Linked DNA regions of Homo sapiens: region 2 is linked to region 1. The links are contacts of gene promoters, found by promoter capture Hi-C in blood cells and fetal thymus (Javierre and others, 2016). All regions are on one chromosome and are shown on one strand. Each heading gives the region's core, a stretch centred on a gene start or on the middle of the fragment in contact. The rest is flanking DNA. Distances are from core to core; before and after follow the strand shown.

The links. Contacts are between HindIII fragments. The CHiCAGO score rates a contact against its expected background, and 5 or more counts as called.
Region 2: a fragment that was not itself captured here is called in contact with the fragment with the promoter of SLC16A14 in region 1 in 2 of 17 cell types (endothelial precursors and erythroblasts); the score reaches 5.8 in endothelial precursors.

Annotation. Positions count from the first base shown.
Region 1 is chr2:230,064,841-230,071,612 of GRCh38, forward strand. SLC16A14 (solute carrier family 16 member 14) reads right to left here and starts at 4,084. Exons shown (of 5, transcript NM_152527.5): 1 at 3,715-4,084. It overlaps LOC107985995 (a long non-coding RNA gene), which reads left to right and starts at 1,899. Exons shown (of 6, transcript XR_001739918.2): 1 at 1,899-1,937. RefSeq lists enhancers at 2,792-3,562, 3,958-4,077, 4,088-4,147 and silencers at 2,938-3,187, 3,458-3,727. The HindIII fragment of the contact is 4,045 bases long and covers 2,581-6,625 here.
Region 2 is chr2:230,556,680-230,563,964 of GRCh38, forward strand. No RefSeq gene overlaps it. Among named protein-coding and RNA genes, the nearest start is that of LINC01907, 140 kb to the right of the region's middle. The HindIII fragment of the contact is 1,947 bases long and covers 1,298-3,244 here.

The DNA of each region.
Region 1 (6,772 bases), core at 2,834-5,333:
TCTCTACTAAAACTACAAAATTAGCCGGGTGTGGTGGCGCATGCCTGTAATCCCAGCTACTCGGGAGGCTGAAGCAGGAGAATCTCTTGCACCTGGGAAGCAGAGGTTGCAGTGAGCCGAGATCGCACCATTGCACTCCAGCCTGGGCAACAAGAGTGAAACTCCATCTCAAAACAAACAAACAACAACAGGAAAAAGTTATAGTTTTTCAGCCCGTGTGTTGAAATATTAAGCACTTTTCTAAATCAATGATAAGAACTTTATATTCTTACTGAATTATTTATGGGTGAAGAGATGTAGGTGCCAACAAACTGCTCTTGATATTTCCAGTTTGTTCATAAATAAGTGACACTGAATAGCATTTAATGGACAAATTTTATTCATGAGGCACAAGGGTGCATGTAGAATATAGTAAAAAAGTTCTTTTTTTTTTTGAGATGGAGTCTTACTCTGTTGTCCAGGCTGGAGTGCAGTGGCATGATCTCGGCTCATTGCAACCTCTACCTTCCAGGTTTAAGCGATTCTCCTGTCTCAGCCTCCTGAGTAGCTGGGACTTCAGGTGTGCACCACCATGCCAGATAATTTTTGTATTTTTGTAGAGATGGAGTTTCACCATGTTGGTCAGGCGGGTCTGGAACTCCTAACCTCAAGTGATCCACCTGCCTTGGCCTCTCAAAGTGCTGGGATTACAGGCGTGAGCCAGCATGCCTGGCCCAAAAAGTTCTTTTGGATCCTCAGGAGGCCCCTATAGATCTGCTGAGCAATGGAGTCAGTTGTATTTCACACTTAAATCTCTCCAAAAGTAATTACTGTTTTGACTACTCATGGTTAACTTCTAGACCAACTAGTTAATGAAAACAAAAGACAACAGAAAAACAAATGTTTATCCCTCCAACTCCAAGATTGCTTGTAGCATTCATATAATTATATACATGTATAATTATATATGTATTTATATAAGATATAAGAATAATTTTAGTATTATAATCCTACTCCACACCTGGAGAGGGAGAACTTAGAGGGTGTATCTGTACCCCTAGGCTCCATGTCTTTGACCACCATAGGGCCTTCAAGCTCCCTTACATTTTCTACATCCTGACATACATGTAAAATGACGATATGCATGTGGCACCCTGAGGCAGTGAATGTGGGGCTTCTGCTAAGGATTAATATGTAAAATGTGGCAGAACACGGTGGCTCATGCCTGTAATCCCAGCACTTTGGGAGGCTGAGGGGGATGGATCACTTGAGGTCGGGAGTCTGAGACCAGCCTGGCCAACATGGTGAAATCCCTTCTCTGCTAAAAATACAAAAATTAGCCAGTGTGGTGGTGCGCACCTATACTCACAGCTATGCAGGAGGCTGAGGCAGCAGAATTGCTTGAACCTGGGAGATGGAGGTTGCAGTGAGCTGAGATGGTGCCACTGCACTCTAGCCTGGATGATAGAACGAGACTACCTCAAGAAAAAAAAAAAGTAAAAGGTAACCCACTCTAAGCAAGCTTGCTATTGGAAGCTTGACAAAAAATATTAGGGCTTCGTTATGAAGAGGGTGAAATAAGAAAATGGGAAGATTACGGGAGCAATAGTCAGCCTTCCATTCTCCCCAAATGAGTTCATAGACGATGAAAAAGAAATTGTAAATGGGGGGTAACATATATAGGCTATGAAACTGGGTCAGCTACATATTTACGTGATAATAGGCAGAAATGAAAATAACAGATCCTTCTAGGGTGTTTCAGATATTAGAACAAAATTAAATTTTCTACAGCAGCGTAGAAAGTTTTACAAGCAAGTCATTTTTTTTTTTTTTTTGACAGAGTATGGCTTTGTCGCCCAGGCTGGAGTGCACTGGTGAGATCTCGGCTCACTGCAACTTCCGCCTCCCGAGTTCAAGCGATTCTCCTGCCTCAGCCTCCCGAGTAGCTGGGACTACAGGTGTGTGCCACTGCATCTTTAGTATCTTTAGTAGAGAAGGGGTTTCGCCATGTTAGCCAGGCTGGTCTCGAAACTCTGACCTCAGATGATCCACCCGCCTCGGCCTCCCAAAATGCTGGGATTACAGGCATGAGCCACCGCGCTGGGCCAAGTCATTCATTTTTAATTTGGCTATTGTTATTACATTGCATGTGGTGAGCTCATTACACATAAGGAAAGCGGGAAGCACGAAGCTAAAATTGAAATTACAGTCTTCCCCAAAGCTACGCAGAGCGTGGTGGTAGCGGCTCTGCATCCCACGCAGGTGAGTGCGGGCTTCACCTTTAATTCTGCTCTGCAGGCGCTTCCGCGCTCTTCACCTGGTGTGTACAGGGCATTTGGGGCCTTTAGAGGGCGCACTTGCGGCCAGCAGGCTGAAGAGGCTGCCGCGGAGAAGGCTGGGGAGCGGAGCTGAGCTGAGCTGGTGCAGACAGCATAGGAGAAAAACAGAACCGAAAAATTCACACCGAATTAGGAGGACTCAACACATACATGCTTCGCTCTGGGTCAGGGACTGTGCTTGGTGGCTTCTCCTCCAGTCCAATTGGCATGAATGTCCGCATTTTACAGAGGAAGAATCTGAGCCATCAAATGGGAGCAATGAAGCTTAGAAAGGTTAAACTAGCAGGCTGTGGAAACCAAATCGGAACCCAGGCCTGCAGGATCCCAAGCCTGTTTTACCTCCTCCCACCCCCAACACTGCCTCTCTCCCCTCTCTTCTCTCTCTCTCTCTCTCTCTCTCTCTCTCTCTCTCTCACACACACACACACAGCCGCACACGCACGCACATGCAAACAAAGAAGCCAGACAAGGCAAAGGAGAATCTCTCTAAGCCCCAATAATGGCCCTCAGTCATCCTTGTTAATGAGCCCGAATCAACTTTTCCTCAGAAAGAAAATGGCTTAATTGGAAAGCAGAGTTCAGCTCCTAAAACATCGTCATGGCCTTGGCAGCGTTTAGCCCCGAAATGGCCGTCCCCGGTCTCTCACCCCATTTCAGCCTCTCTTGAGGAGCCTCAATCGGAAGCGCTAAGGGGGCCCAGCCTCTGCGCGCCCTGGGTGCGGGATCGTGCCCGCGGGGTCCGGCCTCGCGCCCCACCCTTCGAGCGCCCGCCCCCACCCGCGCTCGGTGCTCCCGCTCCCTTGGCACCCCGAGACCACATCCCCACTTCGGGCACCCCGCATCCCTCGGCGCGTTCGGAAGCCAGCAGCCCACCGGGGAAGCTGGGCCGGCTGCAGCACCACAGCCTGTGCAGAGAGGCATCCGCACCCCGCGAAGTCCCTAGGCGCAGCCCCGGGTCCCCCGCTCTGCGCCTCATCACTGTCCAGTTCGAGTCCCAAACGGGCCTAGAGAGCAGCCGGGCAGCGAGGCTGGGCTCCGGGCAGAACGCGCTTCTCCAGCCGGACGGGGGTGCCCAGGATGACGCTCGCGGGGCCCCGGCCAGCTTGAGCAGCAAGGCGCGCGTCCCCAAGCTCCGCCTGGCGGTCTGCCCTGAACCGCCGGTTACCCTGCCCGCCCGCAGCTCCCAAGCCCCCGCGGCGGCCTTGGCACTACCACCTGCCCCGGCACAGTCTCGCCCTCCACCGCCCGGGCAGCCTTTCCCGAGCCTGCCTTGGGCTGGGGCTGCCCCTTCCCGGGGGTCCCTGGGGGTGCAGCGGCCATCTGAAACCTAGGCTCCGATGCCCCCGGCGTCGCTCCATTCCCCAGGCCCGCGGCGCGCGCGGCCTCGGATACTCACCGCCCGAGGCCCGCTGGGCTGCGGCCTCACTCGGCTCCACGCCCGGATCCTCGAACTTGCTGCTCTGCTTGGAGCCCCCTGAGCTGCTGGGTGTAGAGATTTGTTGCAATGTCGCCTATCATCCTGGAGACGCGGGTGCCTGCGGCTCAGCTCTCCGCCCGGCTCGGTGCGCTCTGTGAGGGGCTCCCGGGCTCTTCCGCCGCTCGCTGCCAGGCCAGGTGAGCGTTTGGTGGAGCTGAAAGCTCGACGCCTCAGTCCAGGTGGCTTTAAAACGGGTGCGTTTGGAGGTGCCCAAACCTAACCTGGGCTTCCTTCCAATCGGAGCAATTTCAAATCTTCATGCTCGTTCATTCCTATACCGGCTAATTCTGGTTTGGCAGGGAAAAAAAATGCAGTCACCTCACATGCACACTCTTGTGGCCGGTTGAAGTTTATAGCTTTGGCTGAGGTTCCGCTAAGGCGCTGCACATTTATCACTGGCGGAAAGGTCCTGAAATCTAATCCAGGATGCAAGTGAGACTAGCAGTAGCCTCCATTTCTCTGAGATGGGAGAGAAGGGATGAAACAGACCCTCACTGAAATATTTTTGGCCAAAGAGGACTCAAAGTCCCTTATTCTCTCTCTTTTAGAGACACGGGTTTCACTATATTGCCAGGCTGGTCTCGAACACTTGGACTCAAGGAATCCTCTGGCCTTGGCCTCCAAAGTGCTGGGATCACAAGCTGAGCCACCGTGACCGGCCAGTCCCTCATTCTTGTTTCCACCCTGGGTCCCACCTCTCCCTGCTCTTTCTGCACGTCCATTACCTACCTTCGTGGGCACCAGGCACAACTTTCATCTCAATACCTCCCTACCTCATTCCCAGCAGGGCACACAACATAGTGCTTTGCCTTGGACAGTTTTCTGTATTATTGAAGTGAATGTGTGAGTCGATGAAGCCTGTGCTGTTTTTTCCCGCCTGAAGGTTTTGCAGTAATTCTCTGCTGCTGTTGTGATAAACTGCCACAGTAATAGCAGAGGAAAACCACACAAATTCACTATTTTACAGTTCTGGAGGTCGGAAGTTTGAAATGGGTCATACTAGGCTGAGATCATGGTGTTGGCCACCTTGAAGGCTGTGTTCCTTCTCGTGGCTGTAGGGGAGAGCCACCAGCTTCTGCAGGCCGCCCACATTCCTTGGCTGGTGGCTCTTCCTCCATCTTCAAAGCCAGCACTGCTGCGTCATTTTGTCTTCTTTCCATACTCACATTGCCTTGTCTCCCCTTTTCTGCCCCCACCCCTGTCCACTTTTAAGGACCCTGGGGATTACATTGAGTCCAATGAGATAATCCAGATAATCTCTCTATTTTAAGGTCAGCTGATTAGCAACCTTAATTCCATCTGCAACCTTAATTCCCCTCTTGCCATGTAAGGTAACAAATTCACATGTTCCAGGGATTAGGATGTGGACATCTTTGGGAGACCATTATTCTGCCTACCACAGATTTCCTTCTTTCTTCTTTTCCTTTTTCTTTTCTTCCTTCTTTTTCGTTTCTTTGAAAAAAAATTCACATGTATTTCACATTGCCTTCCTCGGTCACCCAAGCTGGAGTGCAGTAGCATGATCACAGCTCATTGCAGCCTCAACCTCCTGGGCTCAGGTGATCCTCCCACCTCAGCCTCCTGAGTAGCTGGGACTACAGGCACACGCCACCATGCCTGGCTAATTTTTTTGACTTTTTATAGAGACGGAGTCTCATTATATTGCCCAGACTGGTCTTGACCTTTTGGACTCAAGTGATCTGGCTGCCTCACCCTCCCAAAGTGCTGGGATTACAGGCATGAGCCGCTGCACCCGGCCTATATTGCTATTTCTTATATCAATTCTGTCTCTCTTTTTTTTTTTTTTTTTTTTTGAGATGGAATCTCACTCTGTCACCCAGGCTAGAGTGCAGTGGCAATCTTGGCTCACTACAACATCTGCTTCCCAGGTTCAAGCAATTCTCCTGCCTCAGCATCCCAAGTAGCTGGGGTTATAGGAGCGTGCCACCATGCCCAGCTAATCTTATATCAACTCTTGATTTAAAAATTATTGAGGCTGGGCACAGTGGCTCACGCCTGTAATCCCAGCACTTTGGAAGGCCAAGGCGGGTGGATCACTTGAGGCTAGGAGTTCAAGACCAGCTTGGCCAACATGGTGAAACCCCGTCTCTACTAAAAACACAAAAATTAGCTGGGTGTGGTGGCGCCTGCCTGTAATTCCAGCTGCTTGGGAGGCTGAGGCACGATATTGCTTGAATCTGGGAGGCGAGAATCGCTTGAACCTTGAGCTGAGATCGTGCCTCTGCATTCCAGCCTAGGCAACAGAGTGAGACTCTGTCTCAAAAAAAAAAAAGAAAAAAAAATTTTGAGAAAATTGTGAGAAATTGTGGCCAAGTGAGGGCATTTTGATGAGGTGCTAGGCTTCAGTGGTTTACATATCTTACTTTTGCTGATAAGAACACGGGCAACTGGATGGTTAGTGTTCCCTTGGGCGGTGCCTCTCATATCCACTCATTTCAAGCAGGCTTTTGACAGCAAGATTAGGGTTCCTGACAAGCACTTCAATTGCCGATGATCCATTTTGTTGGAAAAGAAGTCTGTAAGATTTTTAAGTCTGTTTTTTTTTTCTCTGAAAACTTGCCCACTTATGGAGGTATGATGGATCTCATATGAACTGTGCATATTTAGTGTCCAATTTGATGAGTTTCAGCATATGGAGGTAGGATGGATCTCGTATGAACTATGCATATTTAGTGTACAATTCGATGAGTTACAGCACGTCTATGGAACTACCACCTCAATCAAATGACTCCAAAATTTTCCTTGTGCTGCTTTGTAATCCTTGTCCCACCTCCACACACCCAGGCAGTCTTTAATTGGCTCTCTGAGAAGCTTCTACTCTGGACCATGAAGGCTTTTCTGATCAATTATTTTGTCTTCATAAGTTTCACTGCTCTTACCTGTCTGTTGGTCTCTCAGTGACACAGGTGGATTGAGGACAGGCCCAAAGCAAAGAGGACTGTGACCCATAAGTTGG
Region 2 (7,285 bases), core at 1,021-3,520, 490 kb after region 1:
ATAGAGTCTGTTGGTTACCACTCACTGGGTTTGAAGGCTTATTACAGTTAAGAGATCAGCTCCAGCAATAATTGATTCATTTGAGAACAAAAGTGAATGGGACTCAAGAGAGTACAGAAAAGTGGGTTCTCGTAGGGTTGGAGAAGCCAAAAGAACTCCGAAGAGTAAGAGATGAGACTGAAAGAGGCTTTGAGCAACAAAAAGCTAGTTAGGGTTTCTCGATTAAACAGAGGAATTGAGCACTGAGGTAAATTTCAAAGTAAGCAAAGCCTTGACACCTAACCACCTGGCATCAGATAGCCTCAAGGGAGTACCATTCAACTAAGAGAGAAATTTGGTTTGGGAGGGAAAAGTTAAGAAATAAATCAGGCTTATGGATTAAGTTTAGAACAGAACTCTAGATGTTGTTATAAATATGTGGAATTCATGGACAATAAATCAATGAAAAGCCAACCAAGCTTTAATAAAATCACTGAAAGAACCATAAACCTGAACATAAAGTACTTTTCAAGTACTGTTCAAGCCTTAATAAAACCCTTAGTCATCCAAACTTAAACATGCAGAAAAAAGCTGTGAATACATACAGTGCTATAGAAGGGTGTGTCCCCCAGTGGATACTTCAGAGGTGGCCAAGAAGGAAATTGAAAGAGAAAATGAAAAAAAAAAAAAAATAGAGGGCACGGTCAGGAGAATTATTTCAAAAGAGCAGAATCAAAGTCAAGAAATTTCCAAATTCCTCCACTGCTAGAGGAGAGGGACCCCTTTAATCACAGCCTGGTAGATTTAGATAATAGACCATTGGCCACTGTTTGTCTCCCATTTTTCCACTTCCTAGATAGTAGTTGTATTGGGATTACTCTGTCACTCATCAAACATTGTATATTGGAAGTACAGTAAGGGAAGACAAACTTATTAAAAGGTCACCAAAACATCAAGAACATCATCCAGACCTGATAGGGAGAACTGTACTTCACACAAAGTAAGTGGATATTGGCCTGTGTGCAGTAATTATATGGGAGTTTGTGTTATCTCCTGTAAGGGAGGGGCAGGAAGAAAGAGGGTAAGGGGTTCTATATGTGGGAAGATCGGAAGAAGGGTGATACTTGAGGACAAGATAGAAAGTGTATAGGAGAGACAGCTAGCTGCTTACCCAAACTGTATTTTCCTCTTCTTCCAGGGCACACAGTTAAACTATATTTTCCAGGAATTCCTGCAGGTATGAGTGGCCTATGACCGAGTTCTAGATAGAGGAACATCTGAGGAAGACATGTGCCTAGTTCCAAGGCTGACCCATAAAAGCTTCTTACACGTACTGCCCCACAATCTTTCCTCTGCCATGAACTGGATGGCAGTCTCCAAGTAAGGACACCCTTGGAAGCCATGAGTGTCAAAACCTCCATCAGTCTGAGACCATGCATAATTACATGGAAGAGAGCCCCCAACAACCCAACAACCCTCCCATCTCACCAACTTGTAACTCATTAGACTGTTTTAAAAGAAATAAACTTAAATTTTGTTTGAGGATGTTATATATATTGGGGTCTATTTGTTAGAGCAGATAGCCTAATTTAACTACTACAAAGCAAGCTAACTACTACTATTACATGAATCTTCCAAAATCAAAAGGAATTATTTTCTATTTGTAACATATGCAGCAAACAATTAGAATAATTCTTTTGTAAAGAAAAATATGTTTATATGAATATTAAGAGTTTTATTGGCTTTTCTGTTTTCCAAGTGGCTTTTCCCAAAGTATATTTACTTCTAATATCTATAAGATTTATAAAATGGCAGGAGAAATCTAAAATAGGAATGTGTAAAGTCCTTATGTTGTCTAGAAAATGGTAAGAGTATTAATGTTTACTAGGCATTGATAAACCAAAAATGACTATAATAATGTAATTTTAATGTAATCCAATAAAGAAGTAAGAAGAAGAAAAGGAACATAAAACAGGTAAGACAAATAGAAAACAAGCAGGAAGATGGTAGATTTAAACCTAAATATATCAGTAGTTACATGGAAAGTAAATGAAACAATTTCTCCAATTAAAAGCCAAACATAGCCCAGGCACAGTGGCTCATGCCTGTAATCCCAGCACTTTGGGAGGCTGAGGCAGGTGGATCATGAGGTCAGGAGTTCGAGACCAGCCCGGCCAATATGGTGAGACCCCCATCTCTACTAAAAATACAAAAAAATTAGGTAGGCATGGTGGCGTGTGCCTGTAGTCCCAACTACTCGGGAGGTCAAGGCATGAGAATTGCTTGAACCCAGGAGGTGGAGGTTGCAGTGAGCCGAGATCATGCCACTGCACTCCAGCCTGGGTGACAGAGCAAGACTCCGTCTCAAAAACAGACAAAAAAAAGGCAAACATTGTCATACTGGATTAAAGAAAACCTATAGGCTGCTTGCAAGAGACATGATTGAATATACGAAGATATATAAGTTAAAAATAAAAAGATGGAATAAGATATGCAAACACTAAGTCGTCTCAAAAAAATATAAAGCCGGTGAATGGTATCAGAACATATCACCCCATAATATGCCACTTTGCCATGTTGATTATTTTGAGCTGAAGGCAATTGAGAAACAGCAGATGCAGAAAGGGGTCTCTTTCTTACACCTTTATGCCTAAGAAAAGTGCCATCCCTGTACCAGGAATAGAACATTCTTATCACCAGAGTCAAGGAGTTGAAGCCATGATGAATCTGTACAAACAAACCTCACTAAAATAACCCTTATCTCCCATTAGTTTTCTCCATATATTTCTTAGTCACTTTCCCATAATTTACCACTCTTAGCCCAAATCCTTTTTTCCTTTGTATTGTTACATCTCCACAAGTTATTGCTCTGTGTTAAAATAGTATATAAGCCTCCAGTCAATTCATTTATTTGGGGTTTTTATTTCTTGCTATGATGTTTCCTTTGCCATGTAAAAATACTAATATTAAATAAAATTTCTGTGCTTTTTCTCCTGTTAATCTGTCTTTTGTCAGTTTAATTTATAGGTCCCAGGCATTAAACCTAAGAGAGTAAAGAAAAAAAAATTTTTTCTACACTGGTGTAGACTTTTAAGCAAAAAACACCATTAGGGATAAAGAGGGACGTTACACAATGATAAGAAATTCAACACACACAAAAGATAATTCTACATTTATTGGTACCTAACAGAAAAGCCACAAAATATATAAAGCAAAGATTGACAAGATTAAAAGGAGAAATAGACAAATCCACTACCAAAGTAGAAGCTTGTAACTCACCTCAGTCGCTGATGGCACAAGCAAAAAATCAGTAAGGATGTAGAAAATCTGAACCATGTGATTAACAAACTTGACTTAATTGACATAGATAAAACAACATACCCAACAACTTCAAATGTGCATTCTTTTTAAGTACACATGGAACACATAAAAATGATAAATGTTGGGACATATAGTAAATCTCAAATTTCAAAAAACTAAAATTGTGCCAAGTACATCCTCTGACAATAAGAAACAAAACTAAAAATCAATAACAAGAAGAAAATTCCCCATGTAAATGGAAATTAAGAAATAAACCAATAAACACCTCATAGATCAAAGAAAAAATTATAATTGAATTCAGAAAACAATTCCTGAATGATAATAAAAATATGACATATCAAAACTTATGAGATTCACCAAAAGCAAAACTTAAGAAGGAAAAAATTATAGCCTTAAATGCATTTCTTAGAAAAGAAGATCCATCCCTGCAAGGTCTGAGAAAAAAAAAAAAGAAAAGCTAAAAATCAATGATCTAAGCATCCAAAGGTAGAGATATGAAAAAAGTTAAGAAAGAAACTGATATAGAAAACAAGCATTCAAGAAAGGGGATCAGCAGTTAAAGTCTAAAGTTATCTCTTTGAAACAGCTATAAAATTAACAAGCTCCTAATAAGACTAGACTTTTTTTAAGACAAGGGTCACAAGAACAAATATTAGGGGGAAAAAGAATATGTCAATACATATTCTAAAGACATTAAAATATCTCAGGATACTATGATCAGCTTTATGCCAAACAATTGGAAAGTTTAAATTAAAAACACAATTTACAATATAGGCAAATGCAAAAAATATAAATTTTTTCTACTTTTTCTGTAATTGTTCTGTAACTATTAAAAAATTGAATGTATAATTTAAAACCTCTCTTCAATAAAATTTTCAGGCCAGATGGCTTAAGTGATGTATTTACCAAGCATTTAAGGAAGATAATACACCAAATTTTATCAACCACTTCCATAGAATAGAAACAGAAGAAATAACTACTGATTATTTTGTGAGACCAGTATAACCATAATTCCAAACTCTGAGGGGGCAAAACAAGAACCTAATGATTTCAAACAAGAATCTCTTTCATGAATACAGTTGTAAAACTCCCCAACATAAAAAATAAAGCCAGTTATATTAAAAAGTATAATTCTTATGACCAAGCTAGGTTTATTTCAGAAATGCAAGATTGGTTGAACATTCAAAAATCAATCAGTGGGCCAGGTGCAGTGGCTTACGTCTGTAATCCCAGCACTTTGGGAGGCTAAGGCAGGCCAATCACTTGAGGTCAGAAGTTCCAGACCAGCCTGGCCAACATGGTGAAACTCCATCTCTACTAAAAATACAAAAATTAGCCAGGTATGGTGGCATGCACCTGTAGTCCCAGCTACTCAGGAGGTTGAGGTAGGAGGATCACCTGAGCCCAGGAGGTGGAGGTTGCAATCAGCCGAGATCATGCCACTGCACTCCAGCCTGAGCAACAGAGCAAGACCTTGTCTCAAAAATAAATAAATAAATGTAATAAAATGCATTAACAGATTACAGGAAAAAAGCAATTTGATCATGTTCATAGGTCCAGAAAAACATTCAATAAAAATCAAGATGGGCACGGTGACTCACACCTATACTCCCAGCATTTTGGGAGGCAGAGGCAGGTGGATCACTTGAGTCTAGGAGTTTGAGACCAGCCTGGGCAACATGATGAAACCCCATCTCTACAAAAAATACAAAGAAAAAATTAGCTGAGTTTGGTGGTGCACACCTGTGGTTCCTGCAACTCAGGAGGCTGAGGCGGGAGGATCACCTGAGCCTGGGAGGCAGAGGTTGCAGTGAGCCATGATGGTGTCACTGCACTCCAGCCTGGGTGACAGAGTGAGACTCTGTCTGGAAAAAAAAAAAATCAATATCCATTCATGATTAAGAAAAACTTAGCAAACTAGGAATTGAAGGACACTTCCCTAATTTAGTAGAGGGCATCCATAAAATACTTACAGCATAGCCAGGCACGGTAGCTCATGCCTGTAATCCCAGCACTTTGGGAAGCAGAGGCAGGCAGATCACGAGATCAGGAGTTTGAGACCAGCCTAACATGGTGAAACCCCTTCTCTACTAAAAATAGAAAAATTAGCCGGGCGTGGTGGCACCTGTAATCCTAGCCACTCAGGAGGCTGAGGCAGGAGAATCACTTGAACTCAGGAGATGGAGCTTGCAGTGAACTGAGACCACACCACTGCACTCCAGCCTGGGTGACAGAGCGAGACTCCATCCCCCTCCAAAAAATATATATATATATACCTACAGCATACTTCACACTCAATGATGGAAAGTTGAAAGCTTTCTGATGATTGCTTGAGACCAAGACAAAGTGCTCAAGCAAGTTGAGACCAAGACCAAGTGCTCCTATTACCCCTTTTATTCAGCATCGTACTGGAGGTCTTTGCTGGTGCAGAAACTCAAAGAAAAGAAATATATGTTAAAGAATCGAAAACAAAGATATGAAACTTATTTTTCACAGATGGTGAAATTGAATACACTGAAAATCCAAAAGAACCTATCAGTAAATCACTAAAATTAATAAGTAGTTTGGCAGGTTTTCTAGATCTGTGTCAAGTTACAAAAATGAAATGCATTTTACAAACCAAAAACAGTTACTACACGAAGTGTTGAAATATACATTTACCATACTACTGAAAAGAATATAGGAAAACAAATCTAATAAATGATATGTAAAAATCTATACAGAAAATTCTAGAACATTGTTAAGAAACATTAAAGAATACCTGAGTAAATGGAAGGATATATTATGTTCAGGGATTGGAAGATGAATATTGTCCATTCTCCTCAAAATGATCTACAGAAACAACCCATGTTGTTTCCATTTTAAACATCAACAGCATTTTTGTGGAAATTGACCAGTTGATTCTAACATGTAATATTGGAACACAAAGAACTGGAAATAACCCAGACAATTTGAAAAAGGTGAACACAACTAAAGGACTTCACTACAAGATATCAAGATTTAAATAAAGCTACTCTAATTAAATGGTATTGTCTCAAAGATAGAAAAATAAGCCAGTTGAAAGAAAAGACTCATGCCTATTTGGGCGGTTGATTTACTACAAAGGTGACATGGCAAAACTGTGTGGCAAAGACAATACTCAGTTACTTGGATACCTACATCTAATAAATCTTGAAGAAAAAGAAATCCAGGCCCTCTAATCCACACCAAGCAATTACTGGTGGATTTTAGATAAAAATGTAAAAAGATAAAACAATAGCATTTTGAGAAGATAACCTAAAATAATATCTTCATAAACTCTGGGTGGGTAGGGAAAGATTTTTTTTTTTTTTTTGAGATGGAGTCTCCTCTGTTGCCCAGGCTGGAGTGCAGTGGCACGATCTCAGCTCACTGCAGCCTCTGCCTCCCAGGTTCAAGCAATTCTCATGCCTCAGCCTGCCAAGTAGCTGGGATTACAGGTGTGCACCTCCACACCTGGCTAATTTTTGTATTTTGAGTAGGGACGGGGTTTTGTCACATTGGCCAGACTGGTCTTGAATTCTTGACCTTGGGTGATCTGCCCGCCTCGGCCTCCCAAAGTGCTGGGATTGTAGCTGTGAGCCATTGCACCTGGCCAGATTTCTTAAACAGAATGCAAAAAGCACTTAACCCTAAAGGAAATAATTTATATACTGGACTACACTAAAATTAAAAAATTTCCTTCACTCAAAGATACCATTAAGATCATGAAAATGCAAACCGAAGAGTAGACAAAGATTTTTGAAACCTATTTATCCAAACAAGGGCTCATATTCAGAGTATCTAAAGGACCCTTATACTTCAATATAAGAAATGCAGTGAATCCCAGAAGTAAAGATACTTGAATAGGAACTTCACAAAAGTAGATATTCCAAAGGTCAGTCTAAACACATGAAAGTGCTCTCTCATTAGCAGTTAGGGAAATGCAAATTCAAATCACAGTGAAATATCACTACACACCTAAATT